Linked DNA regions of Homo sapiens: all the other regions are linked to region 2. Evidence: promoter capture Hi-C in 16 types of primary human blood cells and fetal thymus (Javierre and others, 2016). All regions are on one chromosome and are shown on one strand. The core of a region is centred on a gene start or on the middle of the fragment in contact, and the rest is flanking DNA. Distances in the headings are between cores, read along the strand shown. Region 1 overlaps PARN (poly(A)-specific ribonuclease). Region 2 holds the start of ERCC4 (ERCC excision repair 4, endonuclease catalytic subunit). Region 3 overlaps PARN (poly(A)-specific ribonuclease). Region 4 overlaps PARN (poly(A)-specific ribonuclease). Region 5 holds the start of LOC105371094 (a long non-coding RNA gene). Region 6 overlaps PARN (poly(A)-specific ribonuclease). Region 7 holds the start of BFAR (bifunctional apoptosis regulator).

Region 1 (3,074 bases), core at 271-2,770, 600 kb before region 2:
TCTTGTTTTCCCCTTTTTTCCACCAGGGCTGCCCCAGCCCACTCTTTCTCTTAAGCCCTGGCTTTACATTTTCTCTTATTTCTCCCCTTCCTGCTTCCCTCTTATTAAGAGACCAAGTCTCACTGTGCTGCCCATGCTGACCTTAAACTCCAGGACTCAAGCCATTCTCCTGCGTCAACCTCCCAGGTAGCTAGATTTCAGGTGTATACCACCATGCCCAGCTCTTTTCTCTCTTATTTCTGACACCTGAGATTTGTGCATTTAGGAAAAAAAGTTCTAATTATCCTTTAATACTCCTTTACATTCCTAGTGGGAAGAGGCTCTACCTTAGCTCAGCCCACCTCCTCACCTGCACCCCAATTCTGTTTGGTTCTTGATGTGCAAATGATGTTTGTGGCTAAAGATCTCTCTGTAGTATTGGTGTTTGAGCTTTTCTTGTTTTTACCTGCTGGACTATTTTTACCTTTGACTTAGCTCCTTAGTAATACAGTCATAAGCTTAGTAACAGGGGCCACCTTCTGAGAAATGTGTTGTTAGGCATTTTCGTTGTGTGAACATCGTTGTGTACTTAAACCTATATGGTACAGCCTACTGCAGTCCTAGACTACAAGGAGTAGCCTGTTGCTTCTAGGCTGCACACCTGTACAGCATGTTACTGTACTGAATACAGTAGGCAGTTGTAATACAATGGTATTTGTATATCTAAACATAGAAAAGATACAGTATCATAATCTTATGGGACCACCATGTATAAGGGGGTCCACTGTTGACTGAAACGTCAATAGGTGGTGGTTACGTGTATTTTTTTTTTTTTGAGATGGAGTTTGGCTCTTGTTGCCCAGGCTGGAGTGCAATGGCGCAATCTTGGTTTACCACAACCACCACTTCTCGGGTTCAAGCAATTCTCCTGCCTCAGCCTCCCTCCCGTGTAGCTGGGATTACAGGCATGTACCACTACACCCTGCTAATTCTGTATTTTTAGTAGAGATGGGATTTCTTCATGTTGGTCAGGCTGGTCTCAAACTCCCAACCTCAGGTGATCCGCCCGCCGCAGCCTCCCAAAGTGCTGGGATTACAGGCGTGAGCCACCGTGCCCGGCCCGTTACATATATTTAACAAATATTCCAAATGGAAAGCAAAAGCGTTCCTGTGGCTGTGAACTGATGTTCAGTGGAGTGGCTCTGTGTGTTTATTTCCTGACATGTGACTTTGCACAGGCTTTACCACATGTCAGAGATTTGCCGGGCTGGAGGATGGGGTGACGCAGGGACCTGCAGGCCATAGAACTTTTTGGCAACCCTGGTTTACTTTCAGAGAACGGCTGCAAGAGGTTGAGTTTGGAGCCTCATCTTCATTATTCTAAAGGGAAAAGAAGGGGAAATTCTCTGTTGTCTGTCAAGTACTCTATTTTGCTTTGTTTTTCTTATGAAAAAGAAAAGGGAATGTTTAGGTTTGCCAAAGTGTACATTACAGAAGCCCTTGATAGAGCTGAAAAGCAGTGAAAGTGAAAATGATGTTCTGATAAAAATCTTTTACCTTACTGAAGCTATTTGGAGAAACTAGACTAGAGAATTAAAGGATAAAGCATTGTGTAACCAGAGAGGCCAACACCATGATTGTGGCAGTGGCCAGTCTCCTCCATGCTCTGAGGGAGAACCTGTTGCACTCATGTTGTTTGTTTGGTTGAACTTTTTATTGTGGAAAAAAATGTCCAAGACACACACACTATAAAGAAGAATATAGTGACAAGTCTGTACTCACCCCCAACCCCTTCAGCCACTTAATCGTGGCCAGTCCTGTTTCATCTCTACGAACACCTGCTCTCTCACTTTTTATTTTGAAGCATATTTTAGATCCATATTGTATTCACTGGGAAATATTCCAGTGTGTCTCTTAAAAACAGATTTTTTTTTTTTTGAGACAGGGTTTCACTCCCATCACCCAGTCTGGAGTGCAGTGGTGCGATCTCCACTCGCTGCAACCTCCACCTCCCAGGCTCAAGCTGTTCTCCTGCCTCAGCCTCCCTAGTAGTTGGGACTACAGGTGCATGTCCCTGTACCTGGCTAATTTTTGGTAGAGACGGGGTTTCGATATGTTACTCCTAAGCTCAAACAGTCCACCTTGGCCTCCCAAAGTGCTGAGATTACAGGCATGAGCCACCATGCCTGGCCCACAGATTATTTTTTTAAACATAGGTACAATATTAGTATTGCTCCTAAAAAATAAATCATTAATATCTTAAAATGATAAACTATTGATAGACTGTTAAAATTTCAAGTTATCTCACAAATGTCATGAGTTTATCTTTTTCCACTGAAGTCAAGATTCATATAAGGGCCACACATGGTGGTTGTTGAAATGTCTGTGGTGTCTCTTAATCTATCAGTGTGTCTCTCTTCTGCCCTCACCCCCTCGTTTGTTGAAGAAGCAAGGTTATTCGTCCTGTAGCATTTCTTACAGTCTGAACTTTACTGATTGTATCCACTCCCCACCTCTCATGTTGTTTTATATATTCTTTTGTCCTCCTTTTTCATATAAGCTTGTTGTTAAAGCTAGAAGCTTGATCAGAATAAGAACTGATGTTTTGAGGCTGCAAGACTGCTTCACAGGTGGTGATGTGTTCTTCCATCAGGAAGCACATCTAGTATCTAGTATCTCTCTTTTTGTGTGTGATTTATTGGCTGTGTTAATGCTTAACCTAGATCCATTATTTCATTAGAGACTGCAATATGGTGATACTGTAATTCTAGCATGCCTTTTTCTTTTATTAGTTGGAATATATCTATAAAGAGAAACTTTTACTTGTCTGCTATGTGGTTGGCAATTGGTATAGGAAAAGCAGAATTTATGTTTGATTCTTGCCTAAAAATGGACAGTAGTGGCCAGTTAGTTTGTTTTAGTATCATCATGGACTTATGGACATAATGACATAGAGAAATCTATAATATGATTTAGTCAGTCACAGTTTTGACCCTTACTAATGCTCCAGTTCTCCCAGTGTTGCAAATCAGAACCTCTTGAGGTTGGCCGATGAATTCTTTTGACTGGCCCTCTGAGATGACAAGATGTTCCAG
Region 2 (3,304 bases), core at 515-3,014:
AATATACACACTAAGTTACTTCTTTATAGTAACTTCAGCCAACCAGTCTACATTTAATGAGGTTTTCTTGTTTTGGGGTTTACACTAAGGAATAATTGCACTTCAGTCATTATCAGCACTCAACTACAATAACATATGCACACACATACAAAACCTCAAACTTTTAAAAGCCTGGATTAAAAGATTTCTGCTACCTAGAAAATACTTCCCACCAAAGCCAGGTTTGTAGCCAAGCACATTCTATGAGATGATAACAAGGGAATCCTTTCCCCAGACAATGTTTTAGACTATCAGTTCTGTGCTAATCTATCCTAGAGGGACTTCATGTCACTGGGTCCCTTGGCTTGGTTTATTTATATCCCCAGTTTAAAACCATCTTTACTAGGCCCTGTGTGTTGCCTTAGGCCCTATGCCAAGCACTGGGGATACCTAGATGAATCAAACAGGATCCCTGCCCTCAAAGAGACTGTGGTCACTCTTCTCAGCTGACATTTTTCTCCCGGCCACCTGATATATCTAGGGGATCATCAGACTTGTCCGACCAAGCTGTGTCCCCTCTCAACACCCCTCAGACCCATGTGTAGCCCCATTCCATCTTTCTCAGTGTTCTCCATTGTCCTTAACTGTAGTTAACCTTTGCCAACATCCTCAGCGTCAAGCTCCAATCCCTTTCTGACCCTATGGCCCTCTTAACACAGCCTTGGTGAATGTCCTATTTCCTGGTCCCTCCTTTTCCCTATTGGGGTTTTTCCAGCGCCTCAGCATCTCCTTTCATGTCTCCCCATCACCCTCAGAGATCTTCCATCCTCATCACTGTTCCCTTTCAGGGACCTTCCTTCTGCCCCCAGAAACTCCCTTAATGGCCAACTTCAGGACTCTCCCGTTATTCCTATCCAGATCCTCCTTCCGACATCTCCCCCTCCCCTGCAGCGACCTCCGATCCTCTCCTACCACTCAGAGCCCCTTCACCTTTCAGTGCCCTTGCACCCATGTCAGGGACCTGCATCCTTCTGGGGACCCCTCCCATCCCTCTTAGTGTTGTCAGGGAATTGCATCCTTCTCGGGACCCCTTCCATCATTCTCACTGTGCCTGCACAGTGTCAGGGACCCGCATCCCCTGGGGACCCCTCCCATTTCTCTTAGTGTTCTTGAACTCTGGTCAAAGACTTGCATCCTTCTTGGGACCCCTCCCTTCCCTCTCAGAGTCCCCGCACAGTGTCAGGGACTGGCATTCCTCTTAGTGTTCTTCAACTCCTGCCAGGGACCTGCAGCCTTCTCGGGGCCCCTCCAATTCTTATCAGTGTCCCCGCACGGTGTGAGCGACCGGTATCCTCCTAGCGACCCCTTACATACGTCTGTGTTCCCGCAGTGTGAGGGACCTGCATCCCCCTGGGGACCCCTGCCATCCTTCTCTGTGTCATCGCGTAGTGTCAGGGGCCTGAATCCCCCTCAGAGCCCCTCCATCCCTGTCAGAGGCCTCGCATCCGCTCAGGAGGCCCTCAACACTCTCGGAGTCCCCTCACTCCCGCGCCAGCGCGGCCGCACCTCCTCGGCCGGCTGCGTGTTGAGCACCAGCACCAGGCAGGCTGGGTGGCAGTGCAGCTGGAGAAAGTGGTAGAGGAGCCGGTCCGCGCCGAGCCCGCGGGCGCACACTACTAGCCCGTCAGTGTCGAGCAGTTCCAGCACCAGCTGTCGCTCGTACTCCAGCAGCGGCGCCATGGCAATCCGTCGAGCCGGCTGCCCTGACTCCATGGAAGCTCTTCCGGGTCGCAGCCGAACGCAGCCGAAGGAAGCCGACTCCTAGTGGAGAGTAGGCCGAACTCAACCGAAGAGAGCCGAGTCCGAGAGGACGGCAGCCAGCCGAACGTAGCCGAGGAGAGCTGAGACTGAGATGATCGTGGGCCGAACGCAGCCGAAGAGGAGCCGAGGCCACGACAGGCGCGCTCTCAGAAAGCCGAAGAGAGCCGAGCCTGAGAAGGCAAGCGTTGGCCGAACTCAGCCGAAGAAGAGCCGAGTGGAGCCGAAGATTCATGGAGTCACCTGTAGGGGCTGGCGCCCCCTGTCGGTGTAGCTTGCAGATATCAGGCTCCATTCACGTCTCTTTTGAGTTTCCACATCCCCTGGCACCCTAGCCTCAAGCTGCCAAAAAGCAAGGGAAGGGGAAGTAAGCCTAAGGAGCTTAATCCCCCGACATCGACAGTTGAAAAAGTTACTGGTCAATATTCCAAATGCGCCAAGAGTTAGTAGCACCTGTTTCCTAGGGTGGTTTTTGGCCCTTCCTTTTGCGATTACTCCCCATCCTTCTTTTAATTTTTTTTTTCTTTCCCGAGACAGGATGTTGATATGTTGCCCAGGCTGGAGTGCAGTGGCTGTGGAATAAGCAGAATCATTTACTGACTTCAGACCTCTGTTTGCCTCCCAAAGACTTCAATACAATAAACTATTTTTAAAAATCCCTCCTTCCACTAGAGGGACACCTCCCGCAGTGTTTGTTCTATACCTAGAAATGCCTGATAGTTGAACTAGTAGAGGAATTGTTTTGTATAGAAACCCCCCACCTTTGTTATTAGAAAATAGAAAATACAAGTAAACAAAAATGAAAATCACTTGTTTCCATTACTTGGAAATAACCACTGTTAACATCACGAAATCTATTTTATTTAGTCCTTTTTTTTCTATCTATATACACATTCTCTCATCACACGGAGTTCTTTTACCGACACGAGATAATTAATATCCCTGATTTAAATCCCCAGCTTTGTCATTAACATTTGGCAAACCTCTGAACATGATGTTTCATATTCTTTTACAAAGTCCTTTTATATGGCTGATGAGATTTCCATTATGTGGGTGTACTTACCTAATTGCTTATTAGAGGACATTTAGTCTGTTTCTGCTTTTTCCCTTCCAGTAATATAAATAATATTTCACTAAACATCTTTGTATGTAAATTCAGCCGTGGCCTTCAGATACACGTCTAGAAATGAATAATCACTGGGATAAAGAGAAAAAAATTTGTAAGGCTTTTCATTCCATTCACATTGCCACATTGCCCTCTAGAAAGCCTATACCAATTCACATTCACACTAGCCGTTTCCAAGAGGATCTGTTCCTCTACCTCTTTACTGCTTAATCTGGTATTTTGCTTACATTTTGTCAAGATGAAAATAGCATATAATTCCTGAATGCTGTTTAAGTGGAAAGGGTTGCCGGCAGACACTTTACATACAGCGTTTCCTCTGAGGCAGATATTAATCTCGTCAGTTCTGCCAGTGAGAAAAATGGAGGTGCAGGGAGGTTATAT
Region 3 (2,954 bases), core at 103-2,602, 640 kb before region 2:
GGCAAGCCATTGTGTCATCATAGAATAACCTTTGATCTGTGCTTGTACTTAACATAATCTGTGTCTGAAGCTTTGTGGTAAGGGTGGAGGATTTTGCTAATGTTAGAGGTGTCTGATTCTTTTGTATTGTGTGTGTTACTCCCTCAAGTGTTTGCTAATCTTTAGTGCTGCATTAGTGGCTAAAGCTTAATTTGTGGCCAATTCACAGAAACAGGTTAGACTTTTGCTAATGAGTTGCCAAGAGAGTAGTTTGAGTAATTTTTTTTTTTTTTTTAAATCTACTTAAAAACAAGAGTGGTAGCTGTCAGCAGTAATTTCACCCAATTTATCTCTTGCAGAGAACCTAGTTGCATGCTACAGTTTGGCCTCCTGGTTTCAAGGAGTGGTAGAAGGCTTATGTTACTGCCTTCTGGATTTTGAGGTAGTCCTTGGTATTTAATAGTTTTATGTTTTTCTTTTTTTTATTCATAGTTTTTTTTTTTTTTTTTTTCGAGACAGAGTCCCGCTCTGACCCCCAGGCTCACTGCAACCTCCACCTCTCAGGCTCAGGGGCTCCTCCTGCCTTAGCCTCCCAAGTAGCTCGGACTACAGGCATGTGCCACCACACCTGGCTAATTTTCTGTATTTCTTTGTAGCAGTCATGTTGCCCAGGCTGGTTTCAAACTCTGATCTGCCTGCCTTGGCCTCCCCAGGTGCTGGGATTACGGGCATGAGCCACTATGCTTGGCAGTTTTTTTCTTTTTTAAAATTTTATGTGTCAAAGTTTTGTACTTTTCTTTTCTTTTTTTGCGATGGAGTCTCACTCTGTTCCCCAGGCTGGAGTGTAATGGTGCAACCTCTGCCTCCCAGGTTTAAGCGATTCTCCTGCCTCAGCCTCCCGAGTAGCTGGGATTACAGGCGTGCGCCACCACCCCTGGCTAATTTTTGTATTTTTAGTAGAGATGGGGTTTTGCCATATTGGCAAGGCCAGTCTGGAACTCTTGACCTCCAGTGATCCACCTGCCTCAGCCTCCCAGAGTGCTGGGATTACAGGCGTAAGCCACTGTGGCTGGCCAGTTTTGTGTTTTTCTACGTATTTTATTTATGGTTTGTTCATTTAATTGTTTATTTATTGTGTAGACAGGGTCTTTCTCTGTTGCCCAGACTGGAGTGCAGTGGCATGTTATAGCTCATTGCAGCCTCAAATTCATGGAGTCAAACAATCCTGCTGCCTTAGCCTCCTGAGTAGCTGGGACTACAGGCACGAGCCACCTTGCCCGGCTAATTTACTTTTTGTAAAGACAGGAGTCTCACCATGTTGCTCAGACTGATCTCAAACTCCAGGCCTCAAGTAATTCTCCCACTTCTGCCTCCCGAAGCAGTGGGATTAACAGGGATGAGCCACAGAATGATTTAATATAAACAAATCATTAAGACTAATATCTTTTGGAGAAGTTGGCACAAGTCATTATCCAGCTGATTGCTGCATCATCTTTAGTGGTAATTAACAACACCACATTGAATATACTGTTTTCCTGTTAACTCGGTGATTCTCAGTCCAGAGTTTCTGAGTCAGGAGTCTTGGATGGCGCTTGGGAATTTGCATCTCTAACAAGTTCCCAGGTGATGCTGATCCAGTTGGCGGGGAAGCACATTTTGCTAACGGTTCAAGGTTCTATATTCTAGAGTTATATATCTGAAATGAAATTCTTCAGTAACTAATGAGCCTTCTTAGGCAGCCTGGGACACAGTGTCATCCCGCCCTTTTCTTTTTTTTTTTTTTTTTTGAGACGGAGTTTTGCTCTTATCACTTAGGCTGGAGTGCAGCAGTGCAATCTCGGCTCACTGCAGCCTTCGCCTCCTGGGTTCAAGCGATTCTCCTGCCTCAGCCTCCTAAGTAGCTGGGATTACAGGCACCCGCCACCATACCCAGCTAATTTTTGTATTTTTAAATAGAGACGAGGTTTCACCACATTGGCTAGGCTGGTCTGGAACTCTTGACCTCAGGTGATCTACCTGCCTCGGCCTCCCAGATTGCTGGGATTATAGGCGTGAGCCACCGCGCCCGGCCTATACCGCCTGTTTCACAAAAAAGTTTGGAGGGTGGCTTTTTGTGAGTGCCACCCAGCACATGGGTAATGGAGATGAGGTGGTGGCTCTTTGGAGCTAAAGGTATTGTGTAGCGTATGCTGTGTAGCCTGTGAAGAGACTGAGTGGAAGTGACCCAGTGTATTGAGCAAAAGATCCTGGTATGCTGTGCTTTACCCTGGAGTCTTTCCAGACTTGTTTGAAAGCCAGGATAACAAGCACTGCCAGTGATATACTCATACAACATTTAAAAAATGACAGATTCCACAAAGGTTAAAACTTGCTCTATGACATCTAGAATGTGAACTTGAGTTACACTGTTTCTTAGGATAGAATTCTTTTGTAAAATTAGCCATTGTATTTAATGGGAATTTTAATTTTAGTGTTTGATAAAGTTAATGTCAGTCCTTTAGAGAATAAGTGGGGAAATAATATTTCATCAGAAAGCTTTCAGAAATGTGGCAAGATACCCGCACGCAGTCTTGAGGGTCTTTACCGTGTTACACCCTCTCGGATCTTTGCTAAAATAGAAAGAACGTTTCGTGCAAGTGTTAGTCTGAGTGTCTTTTTGATATCTGCAGATGAAAGTCCTTCTGGGAGAGATTGTTCTTCAATACAGTTCACAGTGATGGAACATCCTTTCATGTCTTTATCAGCATTTCTGCTTGCCTAGTGCATTTCCTCATATGCTAGGATGAAAACTGTCAAGTTGGATGAGGCATATGTGAAGTATTTTATCAAATCATTCCAGGGAGTCAGTGCAGGCCATTTGACAGCCAGCTGGGATGAGGCATGCCTATATTGAAATGTTTTAATTTTACTTCAGAAGGGCAGAGATGTTACCAGAGCAGTGGCTTCCAAACAGCATGGCATAAGGACGGTGGGAG
Region 4 (3,130 bases), core at 1-2,500, 660 kb before region 2:
CTATAATCCCACCACTTTGGGAGACTGAGGTGGGAGGATCACTTGAGCCTAGGGAGTTCAGAACCAGCCTGGGCAACATAGTGAAACCACATATCTATAAAAAATAAAAAATTAGCTGGGTGTGGTGGGATACGTGTGGTCCAGCTACTCAGGAGGCTGAAGTGGGCGAATTGCTTGAACCCAGGAGGTCCAGGTTGCAGTGAGCCATAATAGTGCTACTATCCAGCCTGGGTGACAGAGTGAGATCCTGTCTCAAAAAAAAAAAAAAAAAAAAGAGTCATTGTGACATACACAATACAAATAGGTATATAGTAATTTGTTAAAACCATTAGATCATGTTCATATAAGCTTGGAACTTATTTAATGTCTCCAATGTTGTGATGGCTTGCTTTTATAATTTATGATTGGTTTTGTTATCAAAAAATCACAGTTTGAACTGAGAGTGAAAGTAGACCAACGACTCCTTTTTTCTTATCTCTCATCTTGCTGTCTGAAGAACTGTTGAAGCCTCCTTGAGATGGCTCTTGTCTGTCTTGCATGTAGGATGTACCTTGTAACTATTGAAGTGTCCAATTGAGAGTGTTCAAGAGTCAGTCAAGAACTGTCCATCTGGCTAGAGATTTTGTTTTTCATCCACTTCAAGTCAGTGCCTTTTCCTGTTGGTGTTTTCCATAGTTATTATTGCCCCCTTGTTCTGATAGGTCATATGTCACATATCTCTGAGACATCATAGGTCAGCCATGTGGAGCCTACCGAACAAGTGTTTGTGTCTTAGGACCTGTTGAAGAGGGATAGGCGTGGTGTTCGAGCAGTTTCTCTTTCAGCTGGGCTTATTTCTGTCCTGTTACCCACTCTGTTCACATTTATATGAAAAAAAAAAAAAAAAAAAACAGAGAAATAGAGTTTTCATGTGGGTTTCTCCCCACCCTCCCCTTTTGGTGTTTCTGATCTCTGAAATAGAATAATAAGAAATAAAAACAACAGCGTGAAAGTACTGATTGTAGATTTTGGCCCTGCAGAAGAATTTATAGTTTACAAACCTGAGGAGTAGGAGTAGATGGTAGCAGTTTGGGAATGGTAGACCGGCAGCAGTATTTGAACCACGTAAAACCATGTGAGAGTATTTGACTCACCCTTGAGATTGATGGAGCCCAGGCTCTCTGAGGATCCAGGTGAATCTAGAACTTGTACTCCAAGTGTGGACTCTCCTGCAGTTGCTCAATGAAGTCGCTGATGATGGGACTGAGTACCTACTCCAACGTAGCAGGGATGCTGGTGCTGGGTTCAAAATGGCCAATGTGTTTAATTACTTTGTCTGTGTTTAAGTATTTTCTGTATTAAACATTTTATGTTTTAATTATGTTTTTTATGTATGAAGTATTTTAAGTAGCTTACATATTTGAGTAAAAGACATTTTAAACATTGATATACATTTTGTTTACCTTGTTAAAAATTCTTTTTAGACTCTTGGATACTAAATTGATGGCCAGCACACAACCTTTTAAGGTATTATTCATTTGCTACTTTATAAAGCGACTGCATATTACTGAGTGAAATGAATGCCAGAACAATATAGCCTTCTGGCAAAAGGTTTGGAGGTATTTAATGCATCTGTAAAGATCTTTATTCATTTGGTTATACTTTGTATATTATAAAAATTAAACTAGCTGCTTCTCTTTCACATTGAAAAAAACGAAGACTTCTGTGTTTCTTTAAAGAACACAAGGAGACAGTACTAGATGCTGTCTTTTTTTTGGGGGGGTCAGTGAATCTCTTTAATATATTGTTCTGAGATGATGAAATCTCATAATTCTTTGCTTCGTGGTTTGCAGGATATCATTAACAACACATCCCTTGCGGAATTGGAAAAGCGGTTAAAAGAGACACCTTTCAACCCTCCTAAAGTTGGTAAGAATATTAAACCGGAAACCCTCCAAACTCTTTGTAATAATTATTGATGTATATTGTAGAAGAAAAGCAGAATGGCTCTGGAGACCGTATTGTTCATTTATAGATTTTGGCTGAATTCACTTGCACGTACCGTGTGTTGAATTATTGTTTTTTGAATAAAGATGGTCTTTTAATTCTACATATATTTTATGTTAATGGAGTTGGGTAGCCATTCATTGAGAATTTTAGCAATTAAAGCTTCAAGGCTTCTATTTTCTAATAATATGGAATTCTCCTAAAACTTGATGTGCCCTTTTATTCTTTCATACATTATTGAAGCAGAGACAAAGAGCTAGTGATTAATCACCAGGGGTAGAGTAAAAAATATATTTTCCATCTCAGAAAAGCCCGAGAACTGGATTTACAGGTGAGATTAAGGCAAGTCCCCACCCTGCCTCCTTTTCAGCTGGTTTAGAGAGTAGAAACAGCAGCACTGAGGAAAACCAGAAGTAGGGAGATGAGATGGAGGTGTTTTGCCACCTCGGGCCACCACCAAGGTATGTGGAGAGCCTACCAGGTGCTACTTCCTTGGTCCCTGTTAACCTGATTGTGCTGCTGATACGGTGATTAGCGAGCCATTAGTTGTAGCCTGAAAACTTCTAAAGACATGGATAATAGGACTAATGGTTTAGAAATTGATAATGCAAAGTATTAAAGCAGCCAAGATTACAGTTATTTGCCCCTTTCTGGGTAATAGTCCAAGAAAGGAATTAAGAAAAGTGGTGGTGGGGCCATTGGGGGAGAAAACGTGGACCTTTTCTATAACAATATAATGGAAATAATTGATTTTGGAAAGAATGTGTCTCAGTTGATGATGGAGTGGAAGATATTACTTAGGTGGCTACCATGTTAAAAGGCTTTTTTTTAAAGGCATCAAGTCTAATATTTAATATGGAGTTAAAGAATTCTTGCTTAAAGAGCATTGTATTGACATAAAAACAGTTACAGCCTTTTCATTGTTAATTTCCATTTATGCTTTTGATTCTGTGTTATAGTAACCTTCCTGACATTCATTTCCAGAATGGTTCTAGGATATAATTATTTATGAGTTATAGTTTTATGTTATTATTTCCATATAAAATAGTGGTATCTGGTAGAGAATTCAGTCTAAAGCAGGTCATTCCTCTTATAGTTTATCTGGTCACATCTGTATTTATCAATGTCACAAAAGAACCATATT
Region 5 (2,998 bases), core at 177-2,676, 570 kb before region 2:
TTTTTCCCCCCCATGGATAAACAATTTTTCCAGCTTTTCCTTTTCCAGGCAGTTCTGTCAAAAATCAAAGTTTCACAGATATATACGTGTTTTTCTAGGCTCTTAGAATTCTGTACCATTGGTCAGTTTATCTCAGCACCATTACTCCACTGTCTCAATTCCTATAGCTTTACAATAAGCTTTTTTACCTAGTAAAGCAAGTCCCCCTTCCCATTCTTTTTTAGAAATGTCCCAGCTATTGTTGGCCCTTTTATTCTAATTTTAGAATTCATCTTTCAGGTTTCCCAGAATAACTGAGGTTTAATTGATGTATAATAAAGTGACCGTCTTTGGTGTACAGTTCTGTGCCTCAGCAAATGCATGCAGTAATGTAATCAGCACTGCAATCAGGATATAAAATAGTTCTGTCACCTTCAAAATGCCCTCCCCTTCTTTGTAGTCAACTTCCTCTCCCGTTCCAGCCCCAGCACCAGCCCCAGGCTCTCACAACCACTGTTGTTTTCTACCGAGATTTTTTTTTCTTACTTTTAATTTTTTTCAATATTTAATTAAAATGTTGGAGGCCAACTCTGGGCACACTGCCTATGAGTTAGCCCTGTTCCACAGAAGTTGTTTAAAAAATAAAATAAAATGTTGGAATATTTTTGCTGGAGTTGCAGTAAATCTATAAGTCAATTTAGGAAGGAATCTACATCTTATGTTGTCTTCCTCTTCATAAACATAATGCATCAACTTAGTTGGAAAGTCTTTGCTTGACAGTAGTGGAAAGTTCTTTAAAAAACAATAAAGTCTAAACATTTTAAGTAATTCCTTAATACAGGAAGCATTTTATAAGCTAATTGTCAACCTACATAAACAAAATGCATATAAATACACAGCAGGCATGTGGCAGTATTAACATTGTTAAAATGTATATATAAATGCCACATCCTGGTTTCAAGCCAGCTTTGTTGCTTACCTACAAGACCTCAGGCAAGCTGTTTAGTTTCTCCGATGCTCAGTCTCTTTATTTGTGTGGTGACTAGAACATCCGAAGATTAAATGCTATGCTGTGTGCAGTGTCAAGAGACAACCGCGTTGATGCTGCCTTCGGATCCTCCGGCGAAGACTTCCACCGGATGCCCCGGGTGGGCCGGTTGGGATCAGACTGGACCACCCCGGACCGTGCTGTTCTTGGGCACAGTGAAGCCGGAGTGTTTGAGACTCTTATGTGAGGGAACTGCTCCCACTCACCTCCAGGGAAACAGGGAGGACTCTTAGCACATTTGGTTCCCCAGTGGCTTTCACAAAGTGGCAAGACCGATAGATTGCCTTGAATCATTTCCCTGACAAATTTGGAAAAGGTTAGTTTTACCCAGCAGCCTGCTACATGCTGCTTCTGACAGGCGAGCTGGAATAGCTGGAGGACACAGTTGACAGCCAATTCATTTTGCTGATTCATCCATTAGAGGCGTGGCTTTGAGCCAGAGCTTGGCTTCTAGATTAAAGGCCGAGAGCTGCAAAGCTGCTGGGACTCAAGGAATGCTGGTAAATTATTGCCACGTGGAGGCCAGCAGTGAAAAGCGGACTGTTATTTATTTCCCCTTTTAAGTGATCCTAAATTCCAAATGTGCTCAGATAAATCCCCTCGCCATGGTTAGGGAGTTGTTTGTAACATTTGTCTATCAGCTGGGAGCTGAATTATTGAAAACTATCAGATATCATTAAATAGATTAACTCAGCTCGCCTGTGACCCTGTCATCACCTTTGCTTTCATGGGGAATATTGACCCAAGCCTCCTCTCCTACTTGGTAATCCAAATTAAACTTGAGAGAAGGATTTTTTTCGAGATAGGGTCTTGCTGTGTTGCCCAAGCTGGAGTGAGTACAATGGTGCAATCGTGGCTCACTGCAGACTTGACTTCCTGGGCTCAGTCAATCCTCTCACCTCAGCCTCCCTAATAACTGAGACTATAGTCTGAAGCCACCACATCTGGCTAATTTTTGTGGTTTTTTTTGTGTGTGTGTGGAGAATGGGGTTTTGCCCCATTGTCCAGGCTGGTCTCGAACCCCTGGGCTCAAGCAGTCCTCCTGCCTTGGCCTCCCAGAGTGCTGGGACTGTAGGCATGAGCGACCACACCTGGCAACAGAGGGATTATTGCAGATGTCATCCCTTTTGGGTGTGCTTGCAAATCAAAATAAACCTTTTAGATTAAAGAACGCAATAGCCAGGCCAGGCACGGTGGCTCACGCCCATAATCCCAGCACTTTGAGAGGCCGAGGCAGGCGAATCACTTGAGCTCAGGAGTTCGAGACCAGCCTGGCCAACACGGTGAAACCCTGTCTCTGTGAAAATTACAAAAATTAGCCAGGCGTCGTGGCGCACGCCTATAGTTTAAGCTATTCAGGAGGCTGAGGCACGAGAATCACTTGAACCCGGGAGGCGGAGGTTGCAATGAGCCTAGATGGCGCCACTATACTCCAGCGTAGGCGGCAGAGCAAGACTGTCTCAAATAAATAAATATATTAATAAAAATAAAGAACTTTCTTAAAAAAAAAAAAGAATTGAAATAGAAGAAAATCCAGGAGAATGCTCATTGGTTAACAATTGGTACAGAATAATGATGGTAGAACCAATGGGTTCTCATATGTCCACATTGATAGATGAACATATTTTAATCTGTCACAAGCTTAGGGAGTGACAAGCTTACAGCGAAATCACCACTACATAAATCTGGTATGTGACAGGGTGACCTTTAAGAGAGGGTGGAGATTGTGTCTTGATTTACCAAATACCTGACATAGTTCCTGGGACAAAAACACTCAGTAAGCAGTTACCACATGGAAGAATGGGTGGACAATGGTTATTGGATATGAATTGTTGGGAGGCTGGGTAAATGAGTGAAAAATAACAGAAATATGACACATTCAAAGTAAGAAAAATAACTGTTCCAAGGAATAAGATTTTCAGGAAAGGATCCTATTTCTGTGGCTCTCTGATATGAGTAACTTTACTCAAT
Region 6 (2,923 bases), core at 352-2,851, 580 kb before region 2:
TTAAGAGACGAGATCTTGCTTTGTTACCCAGTATTCACAGGTGTGATTATAGCACCCTCCAGCTTCAGCCTTTAACTCCTGGGCTCGAGGTCCTCCCACCTCAGCCTCTGGAGGAGCTGGGACTACAGGCGTGCGCCACTGTGCCCAGCTATTCTTAATCTAGCCTATGTTGCCGAACCAAAGCTTTACATTTTCCATAGTATATCTGTCAGTTTATTCTTTTATAGTTTCTGGCTTTAGTGTCCTATTCAGAAGCATTAACATTTAATTTATTAGGAATGAGGTTTGTTCACTTGCCTTTCAGTAAGTAAGATTGCCAGATTTCACTTAAAATAGCTGTGTGCCAAATATTGTATGATATACTAAACAGTGATATGTAATTTATCTGAAATTTGGCATCTTGCATTGTTATGTGGTAACTTTATCAGTAAGACTTTCCCTGACCACTTAATTTAAAATCACAACCCACATCTCAGTACTGCCTGCTTTTTGTTTTCTCCATAGCACTGCACGTACACTGTATATTTTACTTTTTTGTTTAGTGTCTATATCTCACCACTAGAATGTAAGATCCATGAAGTCAGGCTTTTTATTTTAACTTTTAAATGGAGGCTTAACATACATATAGGAAAATACCCATATGAAACTGTACTGCTTAACGAATTGTCTTAGGAGGGCAAAGATTTTTTTATTCTAAGTTTTTCTCAATGCTTAAAATAGGTGATCAGCAAATATTTGTTGATTGAGTCAATGGTATAACCTATGAGAGAGGCATTCATGTTACTTTTTCCCAAATAGCTAGCCAGAGAATTTATTGATTATATTTTGTTTGGTTATTATTGCTTTGAAAGCGTATTTTTTCTCCCCTCTCCCTACTTTCTCCCTCACGTAATTTTTATTTATTTTATTTATTTATTTTTTGAGACGGAGTCTTGCTCTGTCACCCAGGCTGGAGTGCAATGGCGCAATCTCTGCTCACTGCAACCTCCGCCTCCTGGGTTCAAGCTATTTTCCTGCCTCAGCCTCCCGAGTAGCTGGGATTACAGGCTCATGCCACCATGCCCGGATAATTTTTTGTATTTTTATTAGAGACAGGGTTTCACCATGTTGGCCAGGCTGATCTCCAACTCCTGACCTCGTGATTCACCCACCTCGGTCGCCAAAAGTGCTGGGATTACAGGTGTGAGCCACCGTGCCGGCCTCCCTCAACCTCACATAATTTTTAATGAATATGAATAGCATAATTATTTAACTATTCTCCTACTATTAAACATTTGTTTGTGTTTTGAAGACATTTTTAATTTAAAAATTTACGTATCCTTGTGCATTAAAAATTAGTCCTCATTTCAGATTGTTTTCATAGGATGATTTCCTAAAAGAGGAATTACTAGGTCAAAGGATATGATCCTCTCTAAGCCCCTTCTCGTTTAGACAGAACACTCACTGACAGTCAGTAGACCTCTCTGCTGAAGAAGGCACACACAAGGACTGTTGATATCATGCCCTTGGTTCACTGCTTCTAAGAACAATTTACCACCATCTGCTAGCAGAGTAGGTGGTCATTACTTTGTATCTTCCTTGACATCAGCTCCTTGCAGCATTGTATGATTGAAACATCTTGAATTTGTATTCCAGTTCTCCTTATACCAGCTGCAAGACTATGGACAAGCCATTCAACAGGGTCTTCAGTTTTCTGTATAAAGTGAGGGTAACAGAGCCTACAGCATTGGCAGCGTGTACTACCTGTGATATAATCTCAGGAAATGATAGCTACCACCCTGAGGCAGGTGACCGTGCTTCTCAAAACCTGCCCAGTCAGTGGTCCAGACCATTTTGGTAGATGCACGGGTGACCACTTCACCTTGGCTAAGAAATACTTGTAGGGCAAATGAGGGCCAGAACCTGAATTTATAGGACAGGATTCCCACCTTTCTGTTGTGTCCACAGGTAGGTAGGGAAAAGAGCAGTATCATAATCCCTTTCAAACAGGAAATTTATTTGAACACCTTCTCAGCTTAGGCTGCCCTCATCTTTCCTTGCATGACATATTCATGATACGTGCGTTTCTATCACCTTTGCTAAAAGAAATAGATACTGCATTACGCTTTTCTCATATGAGTCAGCTCTTTTCAGAATTGCTTCTAACCACAGAGAACTCCTTACAGCTCTCTGAGTGTTGTTTGTGCACCTAGAATACAAATTGACATGTATAAACTACCCTCATGTGGACATTACATTCACCTCCTTGCTGCCAAGAAGAGAAGGTGGAAGTCTCTTTTCCTTTCTGGTGTTCTCATTCCCCAGAAAGGAGAATCCATTCAGCTAGTATCAGTGCCTCTGTGGGGGGAGGTTCTTCTCAAACAACACCAAAGCAGCGTGGATAGGAGCACTCAGGGGCGCAGCGGGGTGAGGGGGGCAGAAGGTGAAATATCTCTACCGTCTTATGTTTTATTTAAACCATTCTCACAATTTAAAAAAATGCTATTCTGCAATATGTCCATTTTACTTTAATATTAATTTGTTTTAAATTGCCAGATTAATTATTTAATTTTTCCTCCCTGATCTCTGGTAAAATCCATGCCCTAAGAAGTTAAGCCGTGGTTCTTCAGTGGCTTGTAGTAATTGCAAGCCCAGGGCTGTTCGGAAGCAGAGAGAAGTAGCTGTATTAGCTGTTCTCTCCTGAAGAAATATCACTGGAGGTATAGAATAGCTAAAACACCTTCCTTGTCTTCAGAGAACTAGCTTGGGTACATGTGACCAGAGGACAGGCACAGAGGCTTAGATCGTATATTTGCTAGGTACCAAGTAGAGTTACATCATAACATTTTGAAACTTGTGTGAATTCAAATGTACTTGATGTGGCTAATTATTTTTTAGGGTGTGAGACTGGTTTTGCTTGTCACTTCACTCAGCAAAAGTATTT
Region 7 (3,254 bases), core at 265-2,764, 710 kb before region 2:
ATCAATAGCAGCATTTATTGAGTGATGGCTACCTACTTAGTGGCACTGCCAAACGCTGGAACCAAAAAGCAAACAAAAAGAACTGCCCTGGAGAAATACAATGTCTCCATCAAGTTTATGGATATAGGGAAATGCAGAGCACACCTGTCAGGATACACCCAGGCTGGATGTTGAGAAAACAGCAGCGACAAGAACAAACAAAACAACCCCATCAGCACGTGCAGTCCCTGCCGGCTCGGGGGTGTGTCCTGGGAAGAGAGTAAAGCTCTTTCCTATTGGCGATTTGGAGCATGACATCAAGACCACCCCCCTTGCAAAGGACCGACCAATGGGCTTCGGCGGGGAGGACCCAATGGCGACAGTTGAGGGCTTAACAGCGTCTAGGCTCTCACTCTGTTTTCCGCGGAAGCTGGGATGCTGCCTCCTGCCCCTCCAAAGGTCCCCGTTTAGACACAACCTGACTCTCATCTGTCGCCCCCTCCCGCCGGCTTTTTTAATAAAAGACAATTCTCGGCCGGGCGCGGTGGCTCACGCCTGTAATCTCCCCACTTTGGGAGGCCGAGGCGAGTGGGTCACTTGAGGCCAGGAGTTCGAGAACAGTCTGACCAACATGGTGAAACCCCGTCTCTACTAAAAATACAAAAATCAGCCGGGCGTGGTTACGCGGGCCCGTAATCCCAGCTACTCAGAAGGCTGAGGCAAGAGAATCGCTTGAACCTGGGAGGCGGAGGTTGCAGTGAGCCGAGATTGCTCCACCGCACTCCAGCCTGGGCGGCAGGGCAAGACTCCGTCTCTAAAAAGAAAAAAAAGAAAATTCTCTTTTGCCTAAGTTATTTCCGAGCCGCAAGTCGCAGAATCAGAAGAGCCGAGTTCTTGCCTGGCCCCAGTGTGACTTTGGGATTTCACTTTCTCCCTTCTGCGCTTCGGTCACCCTACTTTAAAGAATGGGCACAATCGCTCCGCCTTAGGCCAGGAACGTGCCTCGACAATTAGACCGTAAACTCAGCGTGGCGACTATCAGAAGCCTCATCAATTCTGGTCCGGCTGTTGCAGGGTGTGGCAAGCGCTCCTGGCGGGCAGGCGCCCCGTGGTTCCCCTCCAAGGTGTTTGGAAGCGACCCCTCCTCCTTCCCGCCCTAGGGAGCCCCAGGAGGGAGTGGCTCTGACCCTGACCCCCGAAAGGACGCAGGCGAGGCCCAGCGACCGGCTGTGCGGACGTGGGGCTCTCGGGAAGGGATAGCGCAGTTGGCCAAGCTGGGGTCCGAACCCCGCGGCCAGGAGTGGGGATGCTCAGGACTCGGGCCTGCGTGAGGAGAGGCCCCGCGCGCCTCCTACGACCCGGCTGGGGAGGCTCCGCAGAAGGGATTCCCGCTCCGTCTTCCACATCACTCCCCGATATCAAGCCCGAGTCGCCCCCTCAGCACCCCCCAGCCGTGTCGCGGCTTACCATTCCACTCGTCCCGGGCCAACCGGGCCATTATTCTCAGCACAGACCCCGCGGGAGCAGAGGAAGAGGGAGAGGCTTCGCTACCGGAAGTAACAAGACAGAGTGGGGGAAGCGTGCCCCGGCCCCGTGACCATAGAGGAGAGGCCGCTCTCCTTTCACAACCCCCCTCAACCCCGCGACCTCCCCGCTGCCTAGAGCGGCCACTCCCAGCCGGAGGAAGTGGGCGCATGCGTAATACCGCCGGTCCCGCCCCTTCCTCTTCACCCAGAGACCGAGTACCCGGGCTCGGCAGTCACAGCCCAAGGGGTGACGGGTGTGTGTCAGTTTCCGCTCCTCCTGGGCGGCTGTTCTTGTATCCGGAGGATACAAGCTTTGCCTAGAAATTAAAATATTACAAGGCCGCACCGTACTCTCTACAGTTATTTTTTGCCTTCACATTTTATGTAGAAAATCACAGGACTATACGTTCAATTTACGGTGTTAAGAATCGGAATTAAATGACTTTTATTTCTATTAAAATATTTTTTTTTTCGTAGAGATGGGGTCTCGCTGCGTTTTCCAGGCTGATCTTGAACATATGGCGTCAAGGGATCCTCCTGCCTCAGCCTTACAAAGTGCTGCGATTACAGGCGTGAGCCACCTCGTACAGCTTGAAATGGTTTTCTTATCACCACGTTTCGCCCCTTCCCAGCGTCTAGGTCACAGCGTCTAGAACTTATGCTGATTATTTGGTTTTGTTTTGTTGTTGTTGTTTGTTTTTGAGACAGAGTCTCACTCTCACCCGCCAGGCTGGCGTACAGTGGCACGATCTTGGCTCACTGCAACCTCCGCCTCCCGGGTTCAAGCGATTATCCCACCTCAGCCTCGTGAATAGTTGGGACTACGGGCGTGCACAACCACGCCTGGCTCATTTTAAAATTTCATTTTATTTTTATGGAGACAGGGTCTCGCTCTTTTCCCCAGGCTGGTCTGGAACTCCTGGGTTCAGGCGATTCTCCTGCCTCAGCCCCCGAAAACGCTGGGATTACAGGTGTGAGTCATGGCGCCAGGCCCCCATTAAACAGTTATTTATACAGATTTATTAATACGCTGCTTCCCAGTTCACATTCATTAGCACCACTGAGCCTCAATACAATCCCAGGAAATTGAGGTTTAGGAAGGTTTAATGCATTCCAGAACTAATAAGTGGCTGAGATAGATTTTGAAAATAGGTCTTCTAATCAACTTTCCTTTTGTTCGTTTGTTTGTTTTGGAGACGGAGTCTCGCTCTGTCGCCCAGGTTGGAGTGCAGTGGCACAATCTTGGCTCACTGCAACCTCCGCCTCCCGGGTTCAAGCAGTTCTCCTGCCTCAGCCTCCCGAGTAGCTGGGACTACAGGGGTGCGCCACCACGCCAGGCTAATTCTTTGTATTTTAGTAGAGATGGGGTTTCACCGTGTTGCCCAGGCTGGTCTCGAGCTCCTGGCCTCAAGCAATCCGCCTGCCTCGGCCTCCCAAAGTGCCAGGATCACAGGCGTGAGCCATCGCATCCGGCACTAACCAACTTTTCATAGTTGGCTTTTGTGAAAGACCAACCTGAATGTATTCATTCAACCCATGCTTATTGAGTGTCTACTACGTGTCAGCCCAGTGCTAGGCATTGGAGAACAGCAACCCCAAACCAACATACAATTCCATTAGGGCCGGGCCTCATATGTTGCACTCGACATAGTATTCCCAGAGGCTAATGCAGTAGCTAAGGGTCTCAGCTTTGCTTTCCGTGATCACCTAAGTAACAACCCCTATTATTCTTTTAATTTAATTTAATTT

What was found. The method cuts DNA at HindIII sites, captures the fragments that hold promoters and counts their contacts. A CHiCAGO score of 5 or more calls a contact.
Region 1: a fragment that was not itself captured here is called in contact with the fragment with the promoter of ERCC4 in region 2 in 16 of 17 cell types (M0 macrophages, fetal thymus, M2 macrophages and 13 more); the score reaches 22.8 in M0 macrophages.
Region 3: a fragment that was not itself captured here is called in contact with the fragment with the promoter of ERCC4 in region 2 in 14 of 17 cell types (M0 macrophages, monocytes, naive B cells and 11 more); the score reaches 13.6 in M0 macrophages.
Region 4: a fragment that was not itself captured here is called in contact with the fragment with the promoter of ERCC4 in region 2 in 10 of 17 cell types (naive B cells, monocytes, non-activated CD4 T cells and 7 more); the score reaches 9.2 in naive B cells.
Region 5: a fragment that was not itself captured here is called in contact with the fragment with the promoter of ERCC4 in region 2 in 8 of 17 cell types (M0 macrophages, fetal thymus, total CD4 T cells and 5 more); the score reaches 10.9 in M0 macrophages.
Region 6: a contact is called between a fragment that was not itself captured here and the fragment with the promoter of ERCC4 in region 2, in 8 of 17 cell types (M0 macrophages, naive B cells, monocytes and 5 more). The highest score is 9.0, in M0 macrophages.
Region 7: a contact is called between the fragment with the promoter of BFAR here and the fragment with the promoter of ERCC4 in region 2, in 15 of 17 cell types (fetal thymus, non-activated CD4 T cells, monocytes and 12 more). The highest score is 30.4, in fetal thymus.

Annotation. Positions count from the first base shown.
Region 1 is chr16:14,519,543-14,522,616 of GRCh38, reverse strand. All of the region lies in intron 21 of PARN (poly(A)-specific ribonuclease), which reads left to right. Among named protein-coding and RNA genes, the nearest start is that of LINC03107, 92 kb to the right of the region's middle. The HindIII fragment of the contact is 2,042 bases long and covers 500-2,541 here.
Region 2 is chr16:13,918,614-13,921,917 of GRCh38, reverse strand. ERCC4 (ERCC excision repair 4, endonuclease catalytic subunit) reads right to left here and starts at 1,764. Exons shown (of 11, transcript NM_005236.3): 1 at 1,546-1,764. The coding sequence starts at 1,752. All of the region lies in intron 1 of LOC105371093 (a long non-coding RNA gene), which reads left to right. It overlaps LOC124903647 (a long non-coding RNA gene), which reads left to right and starts at 1,840. Exons shown (of 2, transcript XR_007065001.1): 1 at 1,840-2,239; 2 at 2,335-2,453. RefSeq lists enhancers at 1,311-1,520, 1,561-1,920, 2,131-2,180. The HindIII fragment of the contact is 6,939 bases long and covers 1-3,304 here.
Region 3 is chr16:14,559,970-14,562,923 of GRCh38, reverse strand. The region is part of intron 18 of PARN (poly(A)-specific ribonuclease); the gene reads left to right. Among named protein-coding and RNA genes, the nearest start is that of PARN, 69 kb to the left of the region's middle. The HindIII fragment of the contact is 2,329 bases long and covers 188-2,516 here.
Region 4 is chr16:14,583,125-14,586,254 of GRCh38, reverse strand. PARN (poly(A)-specific ribonuclease) reads left to right here. Exons shown (of 24, transcript NM_002582.4): 15 at 1,464-1,506; 16 at 1,833-1,908. Among named protein-coding and RNA genes, the nearest start is that of PARN, 46 kb to the left of the region's middle. The HindIII fragment of the contact is 1,800 bases long and covers 351-2,150 here.
Region 5 is chr16:14,485,199-14,488,196 of GRCh38, reverse strand. The region is part of intron 21 of PARN (poly(A)-specific ribonuclease); the gene reads left to right. It overlaps LOC105371094 (a long non-coding RNA gene), which reads right to left and starts at 1,195. Exons shown (of 2, transcript XR_933105.3): 1 at 959-1,195; 2 at 1-54. RefSeq lists an enhancer at 1,594-2,529. The HindIII fragment of the contact is 2,489 bases long and covers 182-2,670 here.
Region 6 is chr16:14,502,557-14,505,479 of GRCh38, reverse strand. All of the region lies in intron 21 of PARN (poly(A)-specific ribonuclease), which reads left to right. Among named protein-coding and RNA genes, the nearest start is that of LINC03107, 75 kb to the right of the region's middle. The HindIII fragment of the contact is 2,832 bases long and covers 186-2,923 here.
Region 7 is chr16:14,631,211-14,634,464 of GRCh38, reverse strand. It overlaps BFAR (bifunctional apoptosis regulator), which reads right to left and starts at 1,514. Exons shown (of 8, transcript NM_016561.3): 1 at 1,447-1,514. RefSeq lists enhancers at 932-1,501, 1,502-2,069. The HindIII fragment of the contact is 17,820 bases long and covers 1-1,818 here.